Linked DNA regions of Homo sapiens: region 2 is linked to region 1. The links are contacts of gene promoters, found by promoter capture Hi-C in blood cells and fetal thymus (Javierre and others, 2016). All regions are on one chromosome and are shown on one strand. Each heading gives the region's core, a stretch centred on a gene start or on the middle of the fragment in contact. The rest is flanking DNA. Distances are from core to core; before and after follow the strand shown. Region 1 holds the start of PDZK1IP1 (PDZK1 interacting protein 1). Region 2 overlaps LINC01738 (long intergenic non-protein coding RNA 1738).

Evidence for each region. Contacts are between HindIII fragments. The CHiCAGO score rates a contact against its expected background, and 5 or more counts as called.
Region 2: a fragment that was not itself captured here is called in contact with the fragment with the promoter of PDZK1IP1 in region 1 in 1 of 17 cell types (naive CD8 T cells); the score reaches 5.8 in naive CD8 T cells.

What each region holds. Positions count from the first base shown.
Region 1 is chr1:47,188,111-47,195,007 of GRCh38, forward strand. PDZK1IP1 (PDZK1 interacting protein 1) reads right to left here and starts at 1,926. Exons shown (of 4, transcript NM_005764.4): 1 at 1,756-1,926. The coding sequence starts at 1,822. RefSeq lists a silencer at 2,207-2,501 and an enhancer at 3,331-4,280. The HindIII fragment of the contact is 10,710 bases long and covers 1-4,523 here.
Region 2 is chr1:47,694,284-47,701,777 of GRCh38, forward strand. The region is part of intron 2 of LINC01738 (long intergenic non-protein coding RNA 1738); the gene reads left to right. It overlaps LOC124904174 (a long non-coding RNA gene), which reads right to left and starts at 145. Exons shown (of 2, transcript XR_007066067.1): 1 at 1-145. The HindIII fragment of the contact is 293 bases long and covers 1,570-1,862 here.

The DNA of each region.
Region 1 (6,897 bases), core at 676-3,175:
TGGGTGCCCAGGGACTAGGGCCAGAGATTAGGTTGAGGCCCCAACCTGCACCCTTCTCTACTTTTTTTATTTTTTAATAGAGACAGGGTCTTACTACGTTGCCCAGGCTGGTCTCAAACTCCTGGGCTCAGGCGAGCCTCTGGCCTTGGCCTCCCAAAGTGCTGGGATTACAGGCATGAGCTACTGCACCAGGTCCCTTCTCTGCTTTTTGACCCTTGACACCAACACAGTCCCTCAAGATTTTCCTGAAGTCCCTGCCTTCAGGCCTCTGCTTCCCCAAAGGACTTTCCTCTTCCCCAGCATCACTGCACTCCATGAGCCTGCAGGAGCTCAGCCTTGTAGAGAAAAGACCCTCAGCGGGGAGAAGTCCCAGGACAAAACACAGGTCAGCAGGGGGCTTCAGAGGGGTCCTGCCTCCAGGCCAGAATATACCTGCATCCCTATATTTTGAGGGACCCAAGCTGGACATGAGAAAACCTTCCTCTGGCTCACTCCTGCTCAAATGTCCTCCTTTGAGTCTACCAAAAGCTCTCCTGCTGCAGTGGAGGCCTGACCTCTTCTCCGAGCCTGGCAAATATTGGGAAGGAGGAAGGAGGCTAGGAACTCTCTGGCCTGTAGTGAGGTCAGACCTCACTTATCTCCAGGGGAAGCAGAAGACACACAGTGTGATTACCCTCAGTTCCACACCTGCCAAAAAGCAGTATTTGGGAGTCATTGTTTCCCTAGGGGTTCAGACTGCTCCCTCAGGTCAGTGGTTGCTCAAGCATGGGGAGTTAGGGCTCAACCCTTGGAGGCCCCTCCCTGTTTCCTCCTAGACCCTGCAGCCAATTCTCTCCAGTCACCCCAGGGACCACAGTCCCTGCTCCTCCTCCCATGCACATACAGCAAGGGGCAGTGTCTGGGGCAGGAGAAAGGTGGTCTGAACCCTGTCCTTTCTTGCCGTGCTCTGTGACTCAACCTCTCTGGTCTGCAGTTCCCCAGAGGGCTTCCAAGACCTGGGAGACAGAGTTGAAGCAGACACACATAAGAGCTCGGGGTGGGGGTGGGAGGGGAGCTCTGAAAGCATCTTTGCCAGTCCCCTCTGGACCAAGTCCCACCTGCAGAGTCCCCAGACTTTGGCTGCAGATGCAGCCTGACAGTGTAGAATGAAAGCCAGACCTTGGGTTAGTTACTTCACCAGGTGCAAAGCCCTTCTTCACCTCTGACCTGGCAGCAGCCCTGGGAGGTGGGCAGGGTGGGGTTTATTGTTCTCATTTTATAGGTGAGAAAACTGAGTCTCAGGAAGGGGCAGTGATTTGCTCAAGGTCACACATCCATTCAGGCAGAGCAGGACGAAGAGGTCAGATATTTGGGGGAGTCACACTGGGCACTGTTCTCTATCCAAGCCCAAGAGGCCGAGACAAAGCCCAAGTCTTTGAGGGGTGGCTTGGGCCCCACTCTCACCCTACTTGTACCCCCGGGTCCCCTGTACTCAGGACCCAGCCATCCCTTGGGCAATGCCTGCTCTTGGGGCTTGGGCCTCAAATCCTGTTCCTCCCTGAGATCCTAGAACCAACTGCTGCCAGTTTTCACTCGTTGAAAACAAGTGACAGGCAGAGACTTGGTTCAGAGGTCTCTGCCTTGGGACATTCTTTCAGCTAGCGCAGTCCCTGCTCCCCCTCCAAACTGTAAGTATCAAGGCCCTGGGGAGGGGAGCCAGAACACCACCTGTCCACCCCTGGGTCTCCCGTGCCCAGCCCTCTCCTCCTGAGCTACCTTGCTGACAGCTGGCAGGTGGCACTGCCGTGAGCAGGCCCAGAATGAGGAGGCTGAGGGCCGACATGGCTGCAGCAGCTCCTAGCCTTGCTTCTGGCCGCCGGTGTCTGGGCTCCTGGAGCTGCTGTGGAGTCTATTGGTGTCCGCCTGAAATCAACCTGGGCTCAGTCTGGCCCTGGAGGAGAGGAGCTAGGAAGGAGGAAGGCGAGGGAGGGAGGAGACACGAAGACGGGCGTCGGAGAGAACGTGCCCTCCCTCCCATGGTAATGAGCTGCCAGACCTGGCCTCCCCTGGCTGGTGCCCAGCTCACTTGGGCTGGCATTCGAGGTCATCTTCCAGGGGCCAGCTAAGGAGGTGGGTATGAGGAACAAGCAGATGTGGGAGAGTCCCAGCCTCACCTCCATGCCCTGAGCTCCCTTTTCCTGGCAGTGGGGCTGGATTCTAGGGAAAGGGGTGACACACAGTCGCTCCTGCCTTGACTGAGCCCAGTGGGCGGGGCTTCTTGGAAGGCTGACAGTGGGATTAAGAAATGTCCTGGCTGGCTCAGGAGCCTGGGGAAAACCCCAGAAGCCCAGAGAAGGCTCAAAGCTGCCAGACTCCGCCGAGAGCCTGGCCTATTTCCTGTTCTCCCCACCACCTGCCCCTGCCCCGCCAAGCTAAACTCTGGGACTCTAATGCTGGGACACACTACGGCTTCAGTGCCTTCCACGCCCTGGCCCAGCCCAGTAGCTTCCTAAATCCACCCCCTTCTGCAAAGATCTCAATAGAGGGCCTGAAGGTCCCAGTCCCCAGCTTTCACAGCCCATGCCCAGGCCCTGACCCAGCACAGCTAACCTAGTCCCAGTTCGGTTCTTCCTCTTGGCCCCAGATGTGGTCCCTGGAAACCGGGCAGGGCCTCAAAACAAGATACAGCCTTGGTCAGAGGCTTCAACACCCAACTTCAGATCCATCTCCACCCATGGCAGAGGAGAAAATGGGCAAACACAGCCTGCTGTGGGGGACAAAGGACGGACACCCCAGATGGCAAGGTGCGATCTGGGGCCCTGAAGCCCTGGGCCCGTCACCCTCATAGCCAAAAGCAGCATTGAGGAAGGCACACCTAGCCCCTGGAACAGGGAGGCCCTGGAGCCAGAGCCCTCGGAAGAGGCAAAAGCCTCCCCAGGATCACGTGGTGTCCACCTGGCCCTCCAGCTCAGGGAATGAGAATGGCCAGAGTTCCTGTGCAAGCCCCTGACCAAGGGTCATGCTGGTCTCCTTGCCCCACCCCCCACCCCAGAAGTATGGGAAGCTGAGATGCTGACTCCCTAGAAAGGAGCGGGCCAACTGGAACAAAGTCTCATCAGAGATGGAAGGTCCCCAGGAGCCAGCACCTGAGCTGAAGGCACCTCCACAGCCTCTCTTCCCTGAAGCCACCAAACTCCTATTCATCAGGCCTCCTGGGCAACCCTTCCTATGGCAGGTTGATTCTGCCTTCCTGCTCCAGCGGGAGCACTCAGACATCATGCCTCAGGCCTGCTTCCTGTGTGTGTGTGTGTGTGTGTGTGTGTGTGTGTGTGTGTGTGTGTGTGTGGTGTGTGTGGGTGTGTGTGTGTGTGTTCACATGCGTGTGCAGTCGGGCCCATTGCCATCCAAAGATGGAGTGTCTCAAGGTGATCTGGGAGAACTTTGCTTGGAGTTGAGTGATGCCTCCCAAACATGTATATCCTGGCCTCCCTCCCACACCCAACTTGGTGTCCTCAGAATCTTCTAACACAGACTGGAGTAAGCACTGTGCATGTTAATGAACAGCCAGAGAATCACTGATTGGAATGTAAGGAATGGGGCTGAATTTAACAAACATCTACTGGTGCCTTCTCCAAGAATTTTAGGGAGGAGAGTCACATGGTTAGTTTTGCGTTTGGGAAAACACCTCTCCATGCAGTGTGGAGAGTGAAAGGGGCATGCAAAGGCTGGAGAAGAGAAATCCAGGGATCTGCTACAGTGGCCACAACACCAGTGCCTGGACCTGGGCAGGAAGTGCCCATGGGAACAGATCTGAGCCCTGTTGAGGAGGTAGAGAAGCCGGGGTGTGGCTGCTGGAACACAGTGCCAAGCTGGGAGAATGGGTACAGGCAGGAGGCAGGGCTTCAGGTGACTCCCAGGTTTCTGGCGTAGGCAGCTGGGTAGATGCTAGTGCCTCAGTAGGGGCCAGAGCAAGTTTGGGGGGTTGGAGGATTAATGAGCTATAGATTTTGAGGTATTATGCTTGCAGTGCCTGTGGACTTTCCAGAGGGAGACATCTGGAAGGCTGCAAAATCCCTGCATCTGGAGTGGAACATCTGGGAGCCGTCTGCAGCACAGGGATGGTAACTGAGGCCTGGGAGCTCATGGTCTCCCCAGTGTGTGTAGCGGGGGTAGGGGTGTTGAGGGGAGAGCACAGAAAGAAGGAGACACGCCCCCAACACACAAAGGTCTTTCAAAGGAAGAAGGGGCAGGAGGAAACAGGAGGAAGCAACCCCAGGAAAGTGGGGTATCCCAGGAGCCAAGCAAGGACAGACTTAAGGAGGGTGGGGGGGTCACAGCTGTGCCACCCCCTCCAACCAGTGCCCTCAGCACTCAAGTCCCAGGTTCTGCCTTCCCCACCCCAGTATCCTCCACTTCCCTGAAAAACCCAGGGAAAGGAAAGGATCCCCTGGGCTATGCTTTGGGAGTGGTGGGGGAAGGGGATGAACAGGAAGGACACCAGGTGATCAACAGGAGGAAAACATACCTCCTGGGTCAAAGTCCCAAGCTTTAGAGCAAAACAAGTTGTTCCAGAAAAGAGGGAGCATGGGTGGACACTTGGCTTTGAGGCTGGTCCCTCCTCCCTGGAGGTCTTCACACGGGTGGAGGGTCATCTCCCCAGCTGTATGGACACAGCCCTGATCCCCATGGTAACAAGGTGGGCCCCCCTACTGGTCTGGCTGGGGCCCAGGGTCTGGACTAAGGTCTCAGCAGCCCCACAGGGCTGCACCGTGTGTCCTGAGCAGCTGTTCCATCGACGTTCAGTTCCTCCTTCCTGTTCCAGCCCAGCTGTCACGCAAAACCATCAGGCCCCTTAGACAAGCCCTCCATCCAGCCAGACCTTATGCGATTGCCCTTCAGAAAAGCCAAAGTGGGCCTGGACTGTTTCCAGCAGTCTCCTTCCTCCCAACCCCATCTTGTCAGCCATTCCACTCACTGCCAGCAGGTGGCAGTGTCTAGCTCCAATACCAGACTGGGCGTGCAGGGAGCCAGTTTGCTGCTGAAGATTCTGCAACTTCCCCTCCCTCCAGCCCCCACTTTTGCCCTCCTCCAGGGGTGGTCTGAAGAAAGGGACGGTGGACATTGACATGTAAATAGTCTGGGAACAGCATACAGGGAGTGCTCAGGGCTCTGACATAGGGCAGCGTGGTGGACTACATTGCTAAGGAAGGCATCCTGGAGGAGGTAATGCAGGCAAAGTTAGCCAGAGTGTTGTACTCGGCAGACAGTCTGGGGAGAGGAATCCAGGCAAAGAGCTTAGCCTGAGAAAAAGTACAGAGAACATTCAAGAAGGGTGTTTAGAACACAAATATAAAAGCTTTCTTTTTTTCCCTCTCAGTGTCTCTCTCTGTCACCCAGGCTGGAGTGCAGTGGTTCAATCTTGGCTCACTGCAACCTCCGCCTCCTGGGTTCAAGCGATTCTCTTGCCTCAGCCTCCTGAGTAGCTGGGATCACAGGCGCCCACCACCACACCAAGCTAATTTTTGTATTTTCAGTAGAGACGAGGTTTCACTATGTTGGCCAGGGTGGCCTCAAACTCCTGACCTGAAGTGATCAGCCCGCCTCGGCCTCCCAAAGTGCTGGGATAACAGGCGTGAGCCACCGCGCCCAGCTCTTTACTAATTCTTATAATACTTCATCTTGTTAATATCATTGCTGTAAGCCAGAGAGCTCCTGGAGACCTTGTTTTATTCTTTCAAACGTATCTTGCTTAAACCCTTTTATGGCATTCATCAGCCCTTAAAATAATATGCAAACTTCTTTGCATGGGTTTGAGGGCACAGGCAATCTTCCTTACCCACCACTCCAGCTTGGTCTGGCCCCGGAGCCTCCTGTCACTTCCTAACAAAAGCCAAGCTCTTTCCCACATCAGAGACTTCTCTCCACTTGCTCTTTTCTCTGCCTGGAACACTCTTCCACTCCTATTTGCCCAGCAAACTGATCTTCCTTTACATCCCTTTCTTCAAGAATACTTCTTTACTTCCCTTCTCTCCCATCTGAAGTCACTCCCTTCTATGAGTCTCCTTTGCTCATCTCCTCACAGCCATGATCACAAGTTGCAATTACACACTGATTTGTATGTTTACTCATTTAATAACTGTCTCCATGGAGGGAAGGTATCATGTCTATCTCTCCCTCAGCAGCCAGTACTGAGCACAGTGCCTGAGTACACACTCGACACACATTTTATGAAATTAAATGTCAGTATATGCAGTGCCTACCACTGGCCTAACAAAGAGCAGAAGCTCAGAGAAAGGTTGTTCAATGAATAAAACATTTTAGCTGTAGTTGAGTCCTTGTCTCTCTCCACTCTCTATCTGTGGGGCAAGGACTGTGTCTGATTCATCTCTGTATGTGAAGGAGAAGACAAGGCAACCATTCCTCTGACAGTTAGAGCTGTTCAGCCTGATATGAGGGTGTCCTGGAGGGTGAGCTCTCCTTCCCTAGACATGTAAGAGCAGAGGCCATGGACCAGGTCACCCAATGAGGTGTCTGCAAAAGGGGTTTGTCTTAGTCTCTTTGTACCACTTTAATAAAAATACCCTAGACTGGGTAATTTATAAAGAACAGAAATTTACTTTCTGACAGTTCTGGAGGCTGGGAAGTCCCAGATCAGGGCACTAGCAGGCTTGGCATCTGGTGAGAGCTGCCCTCTGCTTCCAAGATGACACATCTTGCTGTGCCCTTACACGGTGGGAGGGATGGAAAGGTGAAAGGGGCAAGGACACTCCCTTCAACCCCGTTTTTGAGAACACTAATCCATTCACGGGGGTGAAGCCCTCCTGACTTAACCCCTTTCCAAGAGGTCCCAGCCCTCAATATCACCACCTTGGGGTTTAAGGATTTTTTTGTTTTTTTTTGTTTTCTTCGAGACGGAGT
Region 2 (7,494 bases), core at 466-2,965, 510 kb after region 1:
CCTGAGGTAGCAGAGGCCTGGAGGGCCGTCTCTGTGTTTGGTGAATAAACATCAGAGTCCAGTTGCCGGCCTGTCACTCTGCAGCCTTTCAGCGTGTGAGAGGCCAGGTGGGCCAGAGGGAGTTCCCATGGGCGGCATATGAAGAGGCCGGGGTCTGCGGGGGCTGTGGGGGGCTGTGGGGACTGTGGGGGCTGCAGGGGCTGGGGCCCAGGCAGGTCTGCTTTGGATAGCCAGTAGAATCAGCTTTTGCAGGCCATGGAACTTCACACCTTTGAAAGGCTCCAGAGCGGCCCACAGAAAAAATAAACCGTTCCTCCCATCCGTGGCAGATCGGCCATCCTTAGGGGCTCCCGGTCATGCACATGGAAACCCTGTAAAAGGGCCCAGTGTTTCCTTTGCCACTCCCTGAAAGGATATGGGCTGAGTCTTGCCATGGCTGCTGGGGTCGGGCAAGAGTGCTTCATCCACACCAATGAGGCCTGGGGCCCAGCCCCACTCCCCTGGGACAGCCACCCCAGCCTCTGAGCCTTAGTTTACACATCTGGCAAGCAGGCATTAAAAAAAACCCACCTTAGGGTTTTGTGTGTGTGTGATGGCAGAATAAGGCATATATGTGTATGAACATACTTAGCACACAGTAGATGCATGATCAATGTCTTCCTCCTCCTGCTGTCTATGGAACCTAGAACAGGTCGGATTTCCTTTAGGAGCCACAGTTCACTTTCCCGGAAAGTGGGGTAGCATCTACGTGTGTCAGGATGAAATGAGACAAAGGGCTTAGCACAGGGCCTGGTACCAGAAGGTTCTGTTATAGTATAATTTCTTTTTTCTTTCTGTTCCTCCTCCCCTCTGGGTCTCGGGGACATCATCTTATAAATGGGAATGGTAATACTTTCTTGACCTACTAGGTCAAGAATGCTGAGGATAAACGCAATGCTACCAGCACTTGATGAGCTTCATTATGCTGCAGAACCATAGGAGAGACTAGATCTCAAAACACTTTGACAGCAAGAAGAAAGATTACAAGGCTTAGAGAGTCCTAGGAGTATTATGACAAGACTTAGATGAGGACATGGCTCTTGTCTCATCGAGTGATGGTTCAGGCAGGAATGTTGGGAGTCTTAAGGAGAAAGAAGGGTCCCTGCTTCTTGTTGGTACCAGGGAGGGCTTGCTGGAGGCATGGTTTGTCCAAAGCTATGGAGCTCTGTCTTTTCATGGGTCTAGTTTGTTGCAAATGCTTGAGGCCTAGGCTGCTGCTGGCTCCCAGCAAGTTGGGAGATGTCCCCAGAAGTGTCTGTGGTCTCTTGCCTGGGCTTTTCAGAGCTGCAAAGAGACAAACTAGGACCAAGGGGGTTAGAAGGAGCGAAAGTAAGAGCAGATCCCAGTGTGAGCTCTCCAGCCACAGAGCTGGCTGTCTCCAGTGGCAGTGAGCTCCCTGACACGGCAGGTGCCCAGCAGAGGCTGGAGGACCCTGTGACAGGTACTGAGGAGAGACTGTGGCAGTGGGTGAGGGGTAGGATTATCTGAGAGATAGGCTTGGAGTCAGGTACCCTGGGCTCCTCCTGTTCAAGCTTTGCAATTTACCCCTGTGACCTTGGATTAGTCTCCTACCTTTGCAAAGTTTGTTTCCTTATATGTAAATTGCCTGTAATTCCTACTTCCAAGAGTTGTTTTGGAGATTAAATGAGATAATGCACATAAGGTATTTAGTACAGTGTCAGAAACTTGGGGGCTCTCCCTGTCACAGCTTAGATTCTAAGATCTTACAGGCTGAAATTTGTAGGGGAAGGTTAAGATCCTATTCTTTGAGGATCTGGAATTATAGGAAATTGAATCCATTTATTTAACAGGTACTTATTTAAAGCTTATCCTATGCTGAATACTTTTATATGGGCTTTATAAATATTCATTGAGTCTTCACAACACTATGAGCTAGGTACTATTCTTACCCCCAGTTTATAGATAAATAAACTGAGGCAGAGAGAAGGTTAAGTAACTTGCCCATGGTCACACAGCTAAGGAAGTGATAGAGCTGAGATTGAAGTCTGGTTCCAGAGTCTATGCACGAAGATTCTAAAACCATGAGACTTTAAAACCATTCCATATTCCTAAGGTTACAGAGAATTTGAGATTATGGGACTTATATTAATAATTGCAAATGTCCAGGATGAAACAGTTCTAGGGCATACTTTTTCTGCAAAGGACCAGGTTGTAAATATTTTCCTTTGGCTTGGCAGGCCATAAGGTCTCTTGTCACATTACTCAACTCTGCTGTTGTAGCCATATCTAAACAAATGGGTTCCAATAAAACTTTATTTACAAAAGCAGGTGGCAGGTGGATTTGGCCCTTGTGTTATAGTTTGCTGATCCCTGTTCTTGATGCATTGTCTGCTCTGCTGAGCGCCTTGGTGGGGGCTCCCTTCAGGACTGAGCCCCAGAGGAGCCCAGCTGTGCCCCTCATTTGGAGATGCAGAGGGGTCTGCGGGGGCCAGGCTGGCTCCCAGGGTGCGGGTGCCTCTGAGTGTGGCTCTCCCTTTCTGTCCTAAAGAGGCTGTTGAAAAGGCTCCTCTCTCCAGCAGTGGCGCCTCATTACTCATGGTTGGAAAACAATGTTAATTTCCCCCAAGCGGGAAGCAGCTGCACTTGTGAGCCAGGGCTCATTTTGCTGCATGAATATTTATGGCATGTCCCCTAATTAAGCTCAGAAATAAAATTTATCCTGCTAACAGGGTCCACAGAAGACTGGAAGGCCATGTCAGGAACCAGCCTCTTATGCCTGTGAAGTAGGTTTGTCAATGAAACATTTGTTTCCAGAGCCACTTGGCCAGGGACAGTGTCCACAGTAGCATTTCCTGGAAGGTCAAGCACCCTTTGTGTAGTCACATGCTTGTGCAAGGGGACACCTACACTACCTTGCTGAGCAGTGATGGATGGCTATTGTCCCAGGCCTGCATGTGGTGACACAGAGGTGACTCTAGGCCAGAGCCCTTAGCAATACTTCTTTTCTTTTAGCCAGTGTGACTCAGGTATTTTCTGATTGGGTGTCAAAGGCCACTCCAGTATAAATAGCCCAGTGAGAAAGCGCCCTGGAGTGGGAACCAGGAAAGATGGGTTTGAGTTGCTCCCCTGACACTGATTCTAGCTGACCAGGGGCCGGCCTGCCTGCTCTCCCAGCCTCAGGCCCCCATTTCGTTAAAATGATGGCGGACTGTCAACATCATGTAGTTACTGGGAATCATGGGAGACCATGGAAGATAAAGTCTTTTGGGGAATGATTCTCACCATGATTTGGAATTTCCTTTACCTCCAGGCCCTCCCTCCCTTAAATCCCCAGAACCAAGGAAAGCCTAGGCCTAGGCCAGTAACCTTGAGGGCTTCCGGAAACCATAAATCTTGGCCTTTCCTTGAGGGGTCCTATCTCCAGAGAACTGCCTGGGCCCTCATATCCTCTTCCACAAAGCCAATAAACCAAGCAAACACCATAAAGCTCCTCACCCCACCTGAGCTTTCCCCCACGGTCAGAGTCGGACCTGGTCAAGAGTCATGAGTTTCAGAACATGGCTATAAAATTGCACGTGGCTCCTCCCCATTTCCTTTCCAGAATGGAACTTACCTTTGCTTTCTCTCTTCCATCCTCTTTTTGATAAGTTTCCTCTTTAATTTCTTTCCAGCACCTGAGAGATCCCATCTTGCGTTCCCAGCCTCACCTCCCAGTTGCTGGTGGGGGCTTGGAGAGGAGGATGCTTTCCTAAGGCAGGTCCGGGGGTGTAATCAACCAGGGGCCTTGGCAACTGGCACACCTTGTAAATTCAAAAGTCAACAAGATGTGGAAGCAAAGGAGACCCTGGGGCTGGAGAGGAGGAAGTGGGGAGGTGAGGGTGGGCCTTATCTTGTGAAGTCGGTCAGGGGTGGCTTCTGTGCCCTCTGCCTCCCCTGGTGGGGCCTGCCCCACCCCCTGGAGCCTGGAACTTCCTGCTCTCATTCTTCACCTTCACATCCTGAGCTCAGAACTGATCACAGCTACAGCCTGGACCCTGGAAGGGGCCCTAGAGGCTTTCTCTCCCACACCCTCTCACTACAGATAGGGAGGCTGAAAAAACTGGGAGGGCCTTGCCCTAGGTCAGTGTCAGAGTGGAAATAACACTGGGCTGGGGCCAGGAGACCGGGTCTCTGGTTCTTGCCTGGGCTGAGTCCAGACCTCAGTTGCAGACTGTAGCCTTACCTCTAACCCCTAGGTTACCATGAGATGGGAGGAAAGATCACAGCTTCTTAGGGCCCATCTCAACCACAGAACCATATGAACCACTTAATGGCTATTTGCATCCGGGACACACTCTTCACTGAAAAAGGATGCCATGATCTTACCAATTTGGAAGTTTGGTGCAGTGGGCTTATTAGAGCACTGTAGCAGAGGTGTGACATTCACAAAAGTCACTTTAACCTCTCTGGACTTGAGCTTCCTCATCTGTAAAATGAGGATAATAATCCCCCTCGCCCCCCTCCACCCACTGCCAACTATCCCCTCAGCTTCTGATGAGGGTCAAAGGAGATACTGATTCAGTCTTTTGTTAGATGAATGTGTTTACATGTGAAAGAATAAATATTAAAATTATACCTATTGTTTTGTTATTATTTGGTGTTTACTCTCCTTCCTGGCTAGCCAGAAAGAGCTGGTGTTTTTTGAAGACCTAAGCCCGGGAGCAAATTTTTCCTGGTCAAAGAGGCCAAGAGTGGGCCCAGGATCTCTGCCAGGACCTGCCAGGGCCCAGAAGATTTGGGGAGGGGAGCTGCAGCATTAGAGGGCTGAGACCCCTTTATCCTTGATTAGGTCCAAAGCTGTTGGGTGGAACTGTGGCACCTGCAGAGTTAACCGCGTCCATGGTGTATCATTGCGCTAAGACAGGCTTAGAGAGAGCTCAAGGGGCCTACATTTAAATACACACCTTTCTGTTTCCACAGCTCATGTATTTTAGGGAGGAAAATTTAATCCATATACTTTTAGTTCATTTGCATTAAAGTCATCACAAAGCTTTGTCTGAGCCATTTTGAGCTTGTGTGGCCTGTTGGAGAACCTTCACTGTCTTTCGAAGGCCTTTTCTTCCTCTCTAGGCAAACAGGAAATCATACTCTGCCCAGGAGCAACCAACCTGAAACCTTCAGCGCTGCCTGCCTCACCTGCCTTCTCACACCTGGAAATGACAGGCCGAGATCAAGTTCCTCTGGAGCCCAGGAAACTCTCATGCCTGACAATTAAATGCCTCCATGATTTGCCCCAAGCTATCTTGATAGCAGTTGTACCCTAACCACCAGGCAGGGTGATGTTCATGGAAACCTCTGTTCCTGCCATTCCCTCTCCCCTGGCTACATTTCCTCCTGACATTTTGCCCATTCTCTGAGGCCCAGCTGCGGCTCAACCTCAGCCTTCCCTTGATCATCCTTATGCAAGCAGTTGCATAAGCAGTTGCCGGCTCAGGATTCAGTACTAAGTGTCATTGGTAAACGTTTATTGGATGGATGAATGGAATGGTGGATGACAGGGGCTGGGATAATTTATCCTATATTTTCTTCTTGCTTCTCCCTCTTCTGAAATGTGTCTGGCCCAGGTTTTGGTACACACGGAGGTTTGAGGAATGCCTAAAGAATGAATGCACGTGCAGTGAATGGATGGCTGTAGAAATCCATTTATAGAGCACATGCTATGGGCTCTGCATGGGGCCAGATGCTGGTATCACAGCTGTGAAGAAGACATGCTTCCTGCCCTCATCTTTCACATTGTAGCTGAGAAGTCAGGCAGACACTGGGAGTTGCACAATCTATGATGTATTTAGTTACTCTTGTGATAAGTTTGAGGAGGGAGGAAAATGAATATGTGTATGAGTGAAGAAAGGAGTAAACAAATAGAATGAGGGAGGAAATGAATATGTACATGAATAAAAGAATACTGGGGAGAATAATTAATGGAATGATGGATGAAGATGAATTCATTGTGAAGGAAAAGACCCCAAGCCGTGTGACACAGTATTTGTGGACACAAGGCCTAGAGGCCACTAGGCCACTGTGGCCTGAAGTCAGCCCCTCTTTTGTTTCCCAGGGTGCAGGAGCAGCAGGTGGGTGGGGAGAGGTAAGGCCCTCTGCATCCTGAGGTTGGCAGCACTGCTACCATCTTAGCATCTCCCAAACTTTAGTCTCAGAAAGGGTGGGTGTTTGTGACTTTAACCTGGAGAATCTCAGGGCCTGCAGGGCTGGATTTTTCTTTTTTTTTGAGACAGTCTCACTCTGTTGCCCAGGCTGGAGTGCAGTGGTGTGATCTCGGCTCACTGCAACCTCCGCCTCCTGGGTTCAAGCAATTCTCCTGCCTTAGCCTCCTGAGTGGCTGGGACTACAGACGCACACCACCATGCCTGGCTGCTTTTTTTTTTTTTTTTTTTTTTTGAGATGGAGTCTCGCTCTGTCACCAGGCTGGAGTGCAGTGGTGCAATTTCGGCTCACTGCAACCTCGGCTCACTGCAACCTCCATCTCCTGGGTTCAAGCGATTCTATTGCCTCAGCCTCTTAAATAGCTGGGATTACAGGCATGCGCCACCACGCCCTGCTAATTTTTGTATTTTTAGTAGAGATGGGGTTTCACCATGTTGGCCAGGCTGATCTTGAACTCCTGACCTCAGGTGATCCACCCATCTCGGCCTCCCAAAGTGCTGGGATTACAGGAGTGAGCCACCCCACCTGGCCACAGGGTCTGAGTTTTGCTCAGCACATGGCATAATCCTCAAAGCTTTCACAATCATATCCACACCACACGTATCCTCCACTGGGAGAAATCAGCTGGAGAGGGAAGGGCCTGCCCAAGGCCCCAACACCAGAGTCCTGACCTCCAGGAGCCTGAGACAGACAAGGCCCATTTTGACTTAGCTCCTTTCGTCCCCCTCTGAGTTCTCCTAATCCTCTCCCTTTGTGCCCCCTCCAGCCCCACAGGCCCTACCCTCTCCTGGCACATGCTGGGCACGCTCCTGCCTTGGAGCCTTGGTGCTCCTAATTCCCTTTGCCTGGGATGCTCCCTCTAGATGTCTGCAGGGCTCACTCTTGCTTCCTTCCAGTCTTCTCTCAGAAGTTACCCTATTAGCGAGGCCTTCTGTGGCTACTGTATCCATAATTTTGTCACTGACCCCTTCCTTTGATATCCCATTCCCTTGCTTTGATGTTTCTTTATAGCACTTATCCTTATCTAACACTGTATGTTTTTCTTATTAGTTTATGATCTGTTTCTCCCATGATCTGTTTCTCCCACTAGGATGTAAACTCCAGGAGGGCAGAGATTTCATATTGCTTTGTTCACTACTGTATCCCAGCAGCTGGAATCCAGCCTGACACACAGTAGTTGCCCACCCCATATGCACTGAATGGATGAATGAAGCAAACTCTCAAACCCGGCCTCTCCTCTCCATCTAAAAGTCACTCTCATTGTCTTTCCTTGCTGGGACCCTGCAACAGCCTCTT